Regions from separate parts of the Homo sapiens genome. Here region 2 is linked to region 1. The links are contacts of gene promoters, found by promoter capture Hi-C in blood cells and fetal thymus (Javierre and others, 2016). All regions are on one chromosome and are shown on one strand. Each heading gives the region's core, a stretch centred on a gene start or on the middle of the fragment in contact. The rest is flanking DNA. Distances are from core to core; before and after follow the strand shown. Region 1 holds the start of MAML3-AS1 (MAML3 antisense RNA 1). Region 2 overlaps MAML3 (mastermind like transcriptional coactivator 3).

Region 1 (5,587 bases), core at 1,069-3,568:
ATCCTCCAGCCTTGGCCTCCCAAAGTGCTAGAATTACAGGCATGAGCCACAGTGCCCAGCCATAAGGTACAGGTGTTTTTGTTGTTGTTGTTGTTGTTTTGAGACAGAGTCTTGCTCTGTCGCCCAGGCTGGAGTACAGCGGTGCAATCTTGGCTCACTGCAACCTCCGCCTCCCGGATTCAAGCGATTCTCCTGCCTCAACCTCCTGAGTAGCTGGGATTACAGGCACGTGCCACCACACCAGCTAATTTTTGTATTTTTAGTAGAGACAGAGTTTCACCATGTTGGTCAGGCTGGTCTCGAACTCCTGACCTCGTGATCCACCCGCCTTGGCTTCTGAAAGTGCTGGGATTACAGGCGTAAGCCACCGCGCCTGGCCAAGGTACAGGTGTTAAAGAGGCAATACCATTATTCCATTTAATGGACCCTCTTTTAAAAGAGTAATAATAATAATAAAGGACTGTAATAAGCATTGTTTAAAAAAAAAAAAAAAAAAGGAAGCCACACATATTCAAGGCATTCCAACCCCCAAAAGGTTTACCAACTACTTGAAAGGGGCCCCTCTTAAATGTGAGGTCTCTTCCCTCATACACATGCCGTTTCTTCCTTAGTCAAGTCAGCCCCTCCTCTTCCATACGTTTCATCCACTGCCTCTACTGACACCATCCTATTGTAAACCCTCTAACAAAAAGCCAGGAGCTTCCAGTTGCCAAATCCCAGGAGACTGGTCCTTATCTCGCTGCATGTGATTATGCTGACTATATTCTCCTTAGTGTTTACTACACCACTCTCCTGGTGCTCCTCGCCAACTGGACTGTTCCTTTTTCATCTCCTTTGAAGGATCGCCTCCTTCAGAAATACACTGAATCTTGTGTTTCCCAAAGTTCCTGCCATTGTTCTTCTCTTTTCCTGCTATACGTGCTTTGCCAATTTCATCCACTCTGAAATTTCAGCCATCTGCAATGTCTATACCCGCAACCCAGACCTCTGGCTAAACTCTAGTCCTATACATCCAAATGACTACCAGACATCCCTTCAGAATGGACCATAAATACACCCATTAAACGTCGCATGTCCAAAACCAAACATCTTCCCTCCAAAACCTAAATTGGCTAGTAACACCATTTTCCAAGCCAGAAAACTGGAAGTCATCCCTGATTTCTCTCAGTCCCCCCTGTCTACTCAATGGACTCCTTAATATATTTTGAAAATGGTCTCCTATCTCCATCTCTACCCACTACTCACCTACTTGAAGCCCTTCAACATCTTCTGCTGAGTATTCTGTAACATCTTCACCGACCTCCCTCCACCCAGTCTTGGTCTCAAACCTATCTTTCGTATGGTCATGATGACATCACACCCTCGTTTATAATCCTTTGATAGTTTCTCTTCTCCTATGTCATAGGGCTTATGCTTCTGAGCGTGGCAGATAAGGCCCTCCACGTCCTAATGCCTTGCCTCTCTCACCAGCCTCTTCTTCCACCACTTTACGTCCTGAGCTTTCTGTTTCAACAGCACCAAAACACTCATGATTCCCTGCTCATGCCCTGTGTTTTGTACCTTCATCCTCCATCCATGGAGCCCTCAGGTTCTTGCAGGGGAGGGGCAGTAAACCAGATGGTTGTCACTTCAATGTTTAGCCCAGCATCTGGCTCCTAAGCGGTGCCATGTGGCCAGTCAGTGATAAATGATGGGAGACAGTATATGGTATGTCCAAAAGGAGTGACAGAAAGTGTGGAGGGAATTTGGACTCACATTGATAGTCACTGCAATGGGGCCTAAACATGCTAAGCACCTTCCACACGAGAGGTATAGAGAGCCAGCAAAAGCTCGACTCTTCCATCTAACAAGCACCACAAACCTAGAGTCATGCTCTACTTTTTTGGAGAAAACATGTTGGCTTCCCACTGAGCCTGCCATCATGAGGCACAATAGTGGGCATCTTGGTGGTTTGCTAATAATAACAGCTGATATTTATAGAAGGCTCACTGTGGATCCAGAACTTTACTGAAAATTCTACAAGAACTGTATCTCTCAGTCCTCACATCAACACTATGAGGAAGGAACTACTGTTACCCCTGCTTTACAGGTGGGGAAATGAGGCCCAGATACCAAGTAGCTGTACTAAAAGCACAGAGATTTAACCTCCTGGACCTTATTCACCAGAACGCAAGCCAAACCTCCATATACATTTTACTTACTTCCCAAAATTTTATGTGTACATCAAGAGCTGATCATAAATAGAAGGTCAAAGTGACCTATTGTGACATCAAATCTTGGAGCCACTTTAATGTGACTTCACTAAATTGCCTTCGTCCAGTGCCTCACAGACAGCATCCCAGCACATCATGGAGAGCTAAGTGACAGAACAGGCAGCTCCTCTTCTCCCTGGTGAGGCCCCTTCTGCTGTGCCCTGGCTCTCTTTTGCCCCTCATTTGTCCATATTCCTCTCTGGTTTGCTCCAAACTCCTCCTCCTACCTTCAATTAAGATGGTGCTTTAGAACAATACAAGGTAAGATCTCTTCTTCATAAAAACAGAGAACTCATCACACCTCAGGAGGTGCAGAAGCCAAAAATACTCATAGGTTTGAGAAGAGTTTAGATACAGTCACAGATGAGCGAAGATGAGGGCAGTATGGAGCTCAGAGAAGAACCATGTGCTGAGGAACAACCTGCAGGGCTAAAAATCAACTAAGTCCATGGATATGTATGGAGCACCTGCAATATCCAAAGTACTATTTCAGACCCAGCAGCACCCCTGCCTTTAAGGAGCCCCAAGCTCTGACCACTACTTGGGTTCTGTTAGGGAATGTCAGCTCAGAGCTCCCCATGGGCAATGGGATCTTTGCAGCAGGAGTATCCTTCTAACACCAAGGACTTGGAGCTCTTGGAAAGCACTCTGTGTGTCAAAAAAGGGTGCACCCACACAGGCTATCCCCACACAAAGGCAGCTGCAGTGGTCCTCTAGATGTGTGCTCAAGCCCAGAGAAGACTTTGACTGTGGCAATTTGGGAGGGAAACAAATAAAGTAGACAGTATATCTTCACAACAACCATCGCTAGTGGGCCACATGCAGGGCAAGAGAAAGAACTAACACCCCAGCAAGCCAGAAGCGTCTCCCTGTCCTTGAGGTCAGGGCAGAGTGGAGAGACCCAGGCAGGGAGTAAATGGAACAAGTAACAACTAGGTGTGAACCTTCAAGATTTCCCTTCCATCACGCTCCACTAGCATAGGTAGTCTTCCGAAGACCTAAATCCACTGGTCTCCTTCTAGGACCAACATCGAGAGGTCATCAGAGTCGTAGTCACACAGCCTCAGGAGCAATAATGTCCAGGTTTGAATCCCTGTTCCACCATTCATTAACTGTGACAAATCAACAAAACTCTCGGGGGACTCAGTAGCCTCATCTTTTAAATGGAAACAATAATTAGACGAGCCTCAGAAGGTCATTGTGAAAACTGAAAGAGATGATAACATGCAAAGCATTTAAAAGTGTCTCACACTCAGAAAATGTGAGCTGTTAGTATTATCACTTTTTTCCATCAGTGGGACCATGGAAGCCCCCTTCTAGGCCATGACAAATTGTGGACCCCACGTAGATGCTATATGCAGGAATAACTTAGAACACAAGTTGTCCCGTTTGAAGGTCAAACCAAAATTCTACAAAGAAGGTGACTCTAAATCCCCCCTACCCCCAATTCTTATGCATACCTTCTTTGCATGAGACACTTATTTTTGATCAAATTAAATCAAAACTGATTTCAGCTGCAGCACATAGTTTTAAAAGGTAAAGCAGAAGAGCAGGTAGATTTTGCCTGCTTGATAATTTCCCTTGGTTCTCTGAAAAGACAGGCTGAGTCTCAGTCTGCCAGAGAGACCAAACGTGTAGAAACGAAAGGAAGAACAGAAATTTTCAGGCTGCTGCGCAATCCATACAGCAACGAAAAGACCCCAAGTCTAACTGGTGATTAAGAATCAAAACAAAACGGCCGGGCGCGGTGGCTCATGCCTGCAGTCCCAGCACTTTGGGAGGCCGAGGCGGGCGGATCACGAGGTCAAGAAATCGAGACCAGCCTGGCCAACATGGTGAAACCCCATCTCTACTAAAAATACAAAAATTAGCCAGGCATGGTGGCGTGCACCTGTAGTCCCAGCTATTCGAGAGGCTGAGGCAGGAGAATCACTTGAACCCAGGAGGCAGAGGTTTCAGTGAGCCAAGATTGTGCCACTGCACTCCAGCCTGGGTGACCTGAGCGAAACTCCGTCTCAAAAAAAAAAAAAAGAATCAAAACAAAACAACCTAATATTTGTTACTATTCTAATGAATCCGCAATTGTGGAAAACGCACCAATAATAAATCTAGGTGTTAGCAGAGGCACAGACATAATTGAAAGATAAAAGACGGATAAGAAAGTTAACTTGGGAAAAAAACCTTCTGTTTCCAAACTTAAACCAAATAGGTACTCTTTTTGTTTTTCAATTGTGGCATGGGGCAAGCAGTTTATCCGTGCATCTCAGCAGAATCACTATGTAAACCCCAGGCCAAAAACAGACATGAACCCTTAGAATTGAAGGAACAATGTCTACGCTTACAGACTATTGTTTGCATATATCGTGAGTCCTATAGGTTGGCCCATTTTCTCACCCCCATAATTTTATCTGCCCAAATGCATATTTCTAAAAGAAGTTCAACTAAAAGTGGTACAGTATTATGTTGTATGAGATAGTCTCCTAGGAAGAAATTGAGAGTCTAAAAAATTGTTCTGAGGGTCACCTATCTGCTACAAAGGCCTGAACACTGCAGCTTATACAATGATTTTTAAAAACTGATTAAAACCTTTTGGATATTATTTGGCCTTGCTGAAAGAAGAGTTTTACTTAAAAATCATTTAGAAATTGCATTTTTAAAGTATGCCTTGGTTTCACCATTGGGTAGCAGACGGATAAGTGTAACTGAAAGACAAGAAAAGTGGCCCCAACTAACCAGAAGAAAAGCTTACAGGCCTAGCTTACAAGCCATATTACAAGATGCTAGCCCTGAAATTCAGGACTAATGCTGTAATTAATAAGGATATGATGAAATAGTCAATATTATGCAGGTTCATTCAAGAAACATTTATTGAGTTCCTCCTATGAGTCAGATCCAAACCTTGCTTTCAAGTTGCTCACCACCCAGCGCTGGCCACTCACCCATAAGCAACACAGGACAACTGCCACGTCATGTATAAGGTGCTAGGAGAGCATGAGGAAAGGGAAGACCCAGGTTCTAAATAGAGAGGACCAGCAGAATTAGGAAAAATCCCTTCACATCTTGCTGACTAGCCCTAATTCTACTCACCTTACTTCCAAGCAGGGGGCATGCACATACACATTCAATTAATAAACTATTATCTGCTGGCCAAAACCCTCCAGTCATTTCAGTGAAGGTCAAGCCCTCTTTTGTTTCTGTAGTGGTGGAGGACTCTAGGTAGCCAGGAAGAAGGATGCAGATATTCCTAGGATTTAAGGTAGTACCAATAACGCTATGCAAAGTTACTAAAAATTTGAAATCTGTTCCTTCCACTGTAACGTGCCCTTAAAAGTCAA
Region 2 (6,051 bases), core at 931-3,430, 120 kb before region 1:
CCAGGTGGATAAACAGACATTCATTATTCAGTCTCCTGACCTTGAATTTCGGGGGTTCTATAGTCATCTTTTGTTTGGAGGCTGCCACTTGAGATATCGTGTGCCATGCAAGGGCTTTCCAGATTTAAGTGGACTTTATCGAGTAAGATGACTCTTTTTTATGAGAACACATAAGATGCCAAAACATATGCTTCTGTCTTGTTCCTAATTCGAGGGGGCCAATAGGAAGAAAGGGAGTGGAAGGGGGAGGGGTCCATAGCACTCCCCTCTCCTGGTTGGTATTAGAGTGAACAAGAAGTGAATTAGGAAACAGGCCGGGTGCGGTTGCTCACCCCTGTAATCCCAGCACTTTGGGAGGCCAAGAGGGGTGGATCACTTGAGGTTAGGAGTTTGAGACCAGCCTAACCAACATGGTGAAACCCCGACTCTACTAAAAATACAAAAATTAGCCAGGCATGGTGGCGGGTGCCTGTAATCCCAGTTACTCTGGAGGCTGAGGCAAGAGAATCACTGGAACCTGGGAGATGGAGGTTTCAGTGAGCCGAGATGGCGCCGCTGCACGCCAGCCTGGGTGACAGAGCGAAACTCTGTCTCAAAAAAAAAAAAAAAAAAGTGAAAAAGTGAATTAGGAGACATTTGAAGACCCCTGGGCAGAGCAGAAAAAAAGGTGGTTAGCATATTTTCTCATTCAACTGAAATACATCTGTTGACCTCTAAAGTTCAAACAATTGCAGGGCTAACTGCATCCAACCATAGCTGGAGATGAATTAAAATTGATATTCTATAGTCGTCTATCAAATAAAAATAATAAAAGCTAATAAAAAATAATAATAGCAAAGACTTACATAGAGCTTACCCGCTGCCAGGCACTAATCCAAGTACTTTGGATATATTAACTCATTTAATCTTCCCGTCAACCCCTTGAGGTAGGTGCCATATACAAATGAATATAAACTTGGTTATGTTTAAAGAACAAAAAGCTTCATAAGCTTTTTGGTAAAATAAGCTTTGGTGGTAAAATAGGATAGAGGTAGGTGATAGTTTTGAAAAGGAATCTGAGTCCACATATCCTATAACATAGGATGTTGCCGTATATATTGCTGGGGCAAATATTTATATGAAGAAAACATACAAGGATAGCTTATCGGCATTTTTTTAAATAGCCTTGTTCATAAATTTCCACTGAAGAGAATACTAATCTTTGTAGAGAGAAAAGTAAGATCTAAAAGAGATTAGAGAAAACAAGAGGATACGTGATAAAAAGTGAAAAGACCTCATAGCGGCTAAAAATTTATCACCAACTGGAGGAAAATTGCACTCAAAGAGCCTAAAATCTAAAACAAAACAAAACACTGGGCTGGTCCCTTCTTGGAAATGATAATCTTTATTACAGCTTTTCCTTCCTGGGATTCTTCCTAATGCTAATTCCTAGTAGCTAAAATAATAATAAGGGAATGGAAGATGAGGCGAAAGGAGACGTTTCTGTATTCCATTATATTCCAGTAAAGGGAGGGCAGTGGGGAGGGAATGCCTCAGAGATCTAGAAAGAAAGAGGAAAGAGAAACAGCAAAAAAAGGTTTCTGTATCTGTTTCTTTTACCTTCTCACCCATTTGGAACAAAAGGGAGGTGGTCGGGGTAAGATCAGGTTATATTCCAAAGCCACCAGCCATTGGATGGCCTGGAAATGGGAAAGCCAAGCTGATCCCATTCTTTCCTCCACAGCTAACAGAGAGGCAGGGAAAGCGACCAGCCTTACCAGGCTGCAATTCTTGACCCTGTGCCTTCTCCCACACCATCCTGAAGAAGCCACTGACTTCCATCCACCAGAACTGCTTCTCTGCTCTTGCACTGAAACCTCCTGCCATTTTAAGGACACGGCCCTGTAGGTCACCTTAATCTAGTAACTCACAGTCATTTATTTGGCTCTACTATCAAAGAGAATTTTTCATCGGTAAGAAATGGCACTGTTGGGCAGCGTTGTCAATTTGTACTGCTGAGTAAAGAGATTTCAAACGTCTAGGATTAATATTTGTGATATTTACCCTAGGCTAGTCCCAGAGTTAGATTTTAGGCTGGGCGCAGTGGCTCACGCCTGTAATCCCAGCACTTTGGGAGGCCAAGGTGGGCAGACCACCTGAGGTCAGGAATTTGAGACCAGCCTGGCCTACGTGGTGAAACCCCGTCTCTACGAAAAATACAAAAAAATTAGCTGGGCGTGGTGGCGCATGCCTGTGATCCCAGCTACTCGGGAAGCTGAGGCAGGAGAATCGCTTGTAGCCAGGAGGCGGAGGTTGCAGTGGGCCCAGATCGCGCCACTGCACTCCAGCCTGGGCAAGAAGAGCGAAACTCAGTCTCAATTAAAAAAAAAAAGAATCTTTAAAAGTGTTTTTGCATGGTGTTTACAGGTTTCTGACCTTTTAGAATCCTATCACATGGTAAGGACCAAGCATTTTCTGACCAAACACTTTTTCAAATAAGGTAGGTTTATCAGGAACACGGTTTACAGCCTATCATTCCCTTTTGACATTGGTCCCTGAAGGAACTACGAAGTGGAACTGTGAGCTGGTAAGAGATGAAAAAGCAAATGACAGGTCTTACTCTTTTTTTTCTCTCACAAGTTAAAAGCCTGCCTTTATATTGATTTTCAGATGCTGAATATACATAGTTCATCTTCCAGATAATCTCAATGTGTCTTACTCCAATAAACAAATAAAATTTATGAGAATGGAAAAAAAGAGATGAATTTTTATCTGTAAACAACCTTTATACACGCGCACACACAAACATTAACCTGATCTGCAACTGACTCCTTGCGATAAAAGACACTTCTGTCAGGCACTGACCTGGCAGCCTTTACAGGGATGTGGATCCATGTGTATTATTTCGCCACCACGAAAACTCTTTACCAATTAATCTGACAGAAAAGGGACCGCAAAATTGTTCATAAATTATAATTTGCATATTTGGCTTAATCTTAAAACCTTTGCATATCTAAAAGGGTCATCTTTCCCAAATTCCAATACCTTTTAAACTGTGATTTAATGTTACAGTTAATTTCCGTGACTTTGAGTTCTTAATATAATAGCATGATAGATACCCAACATATAGTATGTATCTGCACTACTGTACACATGCTCAAATCTGACAACACCTAATGCTGAGACAAAACATCAGCCTGTGCCTATTGTTACAAGTCATGTGCATTTTGGTCCCTAGAATTTTGGTTTACTAAATGGGAATTGCCAGGAAGGCAGAGAGTGGTCAAATTTACGAACCAACAAGCCCCAGGCTCCCACAGGCCTTGTGCTGCACAGGAAGTGTCTCTGTTTTTTGTTTTTTAATTTTCTATAGGACAAGCTTTCCCGCTGCCCTCCCATTCACAGATGTTCCCGATCCTGACCCACTTTCCCTAGTCTGTACTACAGTCCAGTGGAGAATGCACTCTCTCAGCCTTTGTCTGTGGGCAATCTTATTCTTAGCAAGAGATCTTTTCCTATAATTTTTTTTGTCCTCCATTAACCATGCTGACCAATGTTTAAGAATCATTACATTAGTTGGTTCTTCCATTCAACTGTAACATGCTATAATAATATTTTAAACATCACTTCACTAAATTCTCCCTAAGTCAAGGAAACTATTCTGAGCAATCCAGGCACAAGATTTAATTGCATTGATTTAATTCAACAAATACATAAAGAGTACCTGCTGTGCACCAGGAACTATTCTAGGAGTCAAAGATACAGAAGTGAATAAAGAGACAAAAATCCCTGTCCTTAAGGAGCTGACATCTGAGATGCTTGCCTAGATTCATAAGAATCTGGGAAGGTACTTAGATTCACAGGAATTTTATCAGTTCAAGCTAAACTCATTTGGGATAGAATGTATCTTCTCATAATATCATTAATTAGACATTCTAGGACTGGGCTTACCACTGGTTTAGCAAATGGCTGGATGGTATAGAAAATTAAGCAACTTTGGTTATCCAGAGAAATTGTTTTCAACTTAGACTGTGTGGAAATAGGCATTGCTTTTATTGGGTGCTTCCACATCCAAAAAATTTTGTTTTCCATTGCAAAGAGGTAATTTTACCCTTACATGTATGAGAGTACCATCAAATCTACAACATAAAGTGAAGGAACAAAGAAAAACGTCATTCTTGATTCTCTACTATGCTTCACTTAAAAAAATTAATGTGTACCACAAATATGAGGGCACTGGTTAGTTCTAGACTTTATTGAAATGGGCTCATTTCACTTGATCCTAACCTGCATATCTGGCATTCAGCAGAAGGAACAAATTTAAATCAGATGTTTTGACTGGGGTGACTGGAAATTTGTACCACTGTTAAGCACACCTATACACACACACATATTTATGTTTGTGCCGTATGGTGTTTTTTAAATGTCAGCGTTCATTGAAAGTGAATATGTAACTATATGTATATTTGTTGGTATAGTCATATTTGCTTTTTAATTCCTTCTTTTCATCGGGGTAGATCAGTTTAAACAATTTAAAAATTAGAACCAAGAAGTTTTATTTAAAGAAATACTATTTAAGTGCATTGCTAACTAGAAATAAGTCAATAAGTGTTGCCCAGTAATACGTTTTTAAGATGTCTACTTGAACTTATTTTGTTGAGTATGTTCATATACTTACAACAGTTTCATAAGGTCTGCTCATGTTAGGAAAAATCCTTTAAGATCAGTGAAAACAAAAAAAATGCCAAAATATTTTGAAACGGGGTGCATTTGATAAAAATATCAAGCTATTTCTAACTTGAATTAAGGGAAATGAATGACATAATGATCCCATTAAACAATATACATGAGGCCAGCCGCAGTGGCTCAAGCCTGTAATCCCAGCACCTTGGGAGGCCGAGGCAGGCAGATCACTTGAGGTCAGGAGTTCAAGACCAGCCTGGCCAACATGGTGAAACCCCGTCTCTATTCAAAAAGTAGCTGGGCATGGTGGCAAGTGCCTGTAATCCTGGTTAACTTGGGAGGCTGAGGCAGGAGAATTGCTTGAACCCAGGAGGCGGAGGTAGCAGTGATCCAAGATTGCACTGCTTGCACTCTAGCCTGGGCGACAGGGCTAGACTCTGTCTCGAAAAAAAAAAAAAAGTGTGTGTGTATATATATATATATACACATATGTCATATATATTTATATATATGACATATATGTCATATATATTTATACATATCTGACAAATATATATTTTGTTATATATATAAAGTGTGCATATATATATATATATATATGACAAACAGACCCAAAAAACTTTACTTTGATGACTTTACCAAACAGAGAAAAGACATTGATTGGTTTTACTCAAGGTTTTCTTGTTTTGTTTTTTTTTTTTTGAGACGGAGTCTCCCTCTGTCGCCCAGGCCGGACTGCGGACTGCAGTGGCGCAATCTCGGCTCACTGCAAGCTCCGCTTCCCGGGTTCACGCCATTCTCCTGCCTCAGCCTCCCGAGTAGCTGGGACTACAGGCGCCCGCCACCGCGCCCGGCTAATTTTTTGTATTTTTAGTAGAGACGGGGTTTCACCTTGTTAGCCAGGATGGTCTCGATCTCCTGACCTCATGATCCACCCGCCTCGGCCTCCCAAAGTGCTGGGATTACAGGCGTGAGCCACCGCGCCCGGCCGTTTTCTTGTTTTTATGGGAGGTTGAGGAGTGGTTCAGGTGAACTAATGGCCTTAATGATTTTTACTATTGCTTCAGGTTTGGCTAAATACATCTAACCTCTCTGCCTGTTTGTGCACTGCAGTTTCTGTATATGCAGAGGACAGGTGTTTTTAGTATACTAAGCACTTTTCTAAAATGCAATTAATGATTCATTCTCATATTTAATCCACTTTAAACATTCCACCACTGAAAAAAGGTGAAAAGGGAGGAAAAACTTTTTTATGGAGAATTACAATGGAAATTTCTTCCTGCCTAAATTATTAAAAGTTCCAAATTAGTAAGTCTAAGTTCATTTTTATCATACATTACAGAAGTGATCTAAATCTCAAAAAAAAAAAAAGTCTACAGATGTTTTAGG

The links. Contacts are between HindIII fragments. The CHiCAGO score rates a contact against its expected background, and 5 or more counts as called.
Region 2: a fragment that was not itself captured here is called in contact with the fragment with the promoter of MAML3-AS1 in region 1 in 1 of 17 cell types (naive CD4 T cells); the score reaches 5.1 in naive CD4 T cells.

The regions. Positions count from the first base shown.
Region 1 is chr4:140,125,697-140,131,283 of GRCh38, forward strand. MAML3-AS1 (MAML3 antisense RNA 1) reads left to right here and starts at 2,319. Exons shown (of 5, transcript NR_147610.1): 1 at 2,319-2,391. The region is part of intron 1 of MAML3 (mastermind like transcriptional coactivator 3); the gene reads right to left. The HindIII fragment of the contact is 9,535 bases long and covers 1-4,994 here.
Region 2 is chr4:140,005,992-140,012,042 of GRCh38, forward strand. The region is part of intron 1 of MAML3 (mastermind like transcriptional coactivator 3); the gene reads right to left. It overlaps LOC124900783 (a long non-coding RNA gene), which reads left to right and starts at 5,644. Exons shown (of 3, transcript XR_007058278.1): 1 at 5,644-6,051. The HindIII fragment of the contact is 2,352 bases long and covers 1,005-3,356 here.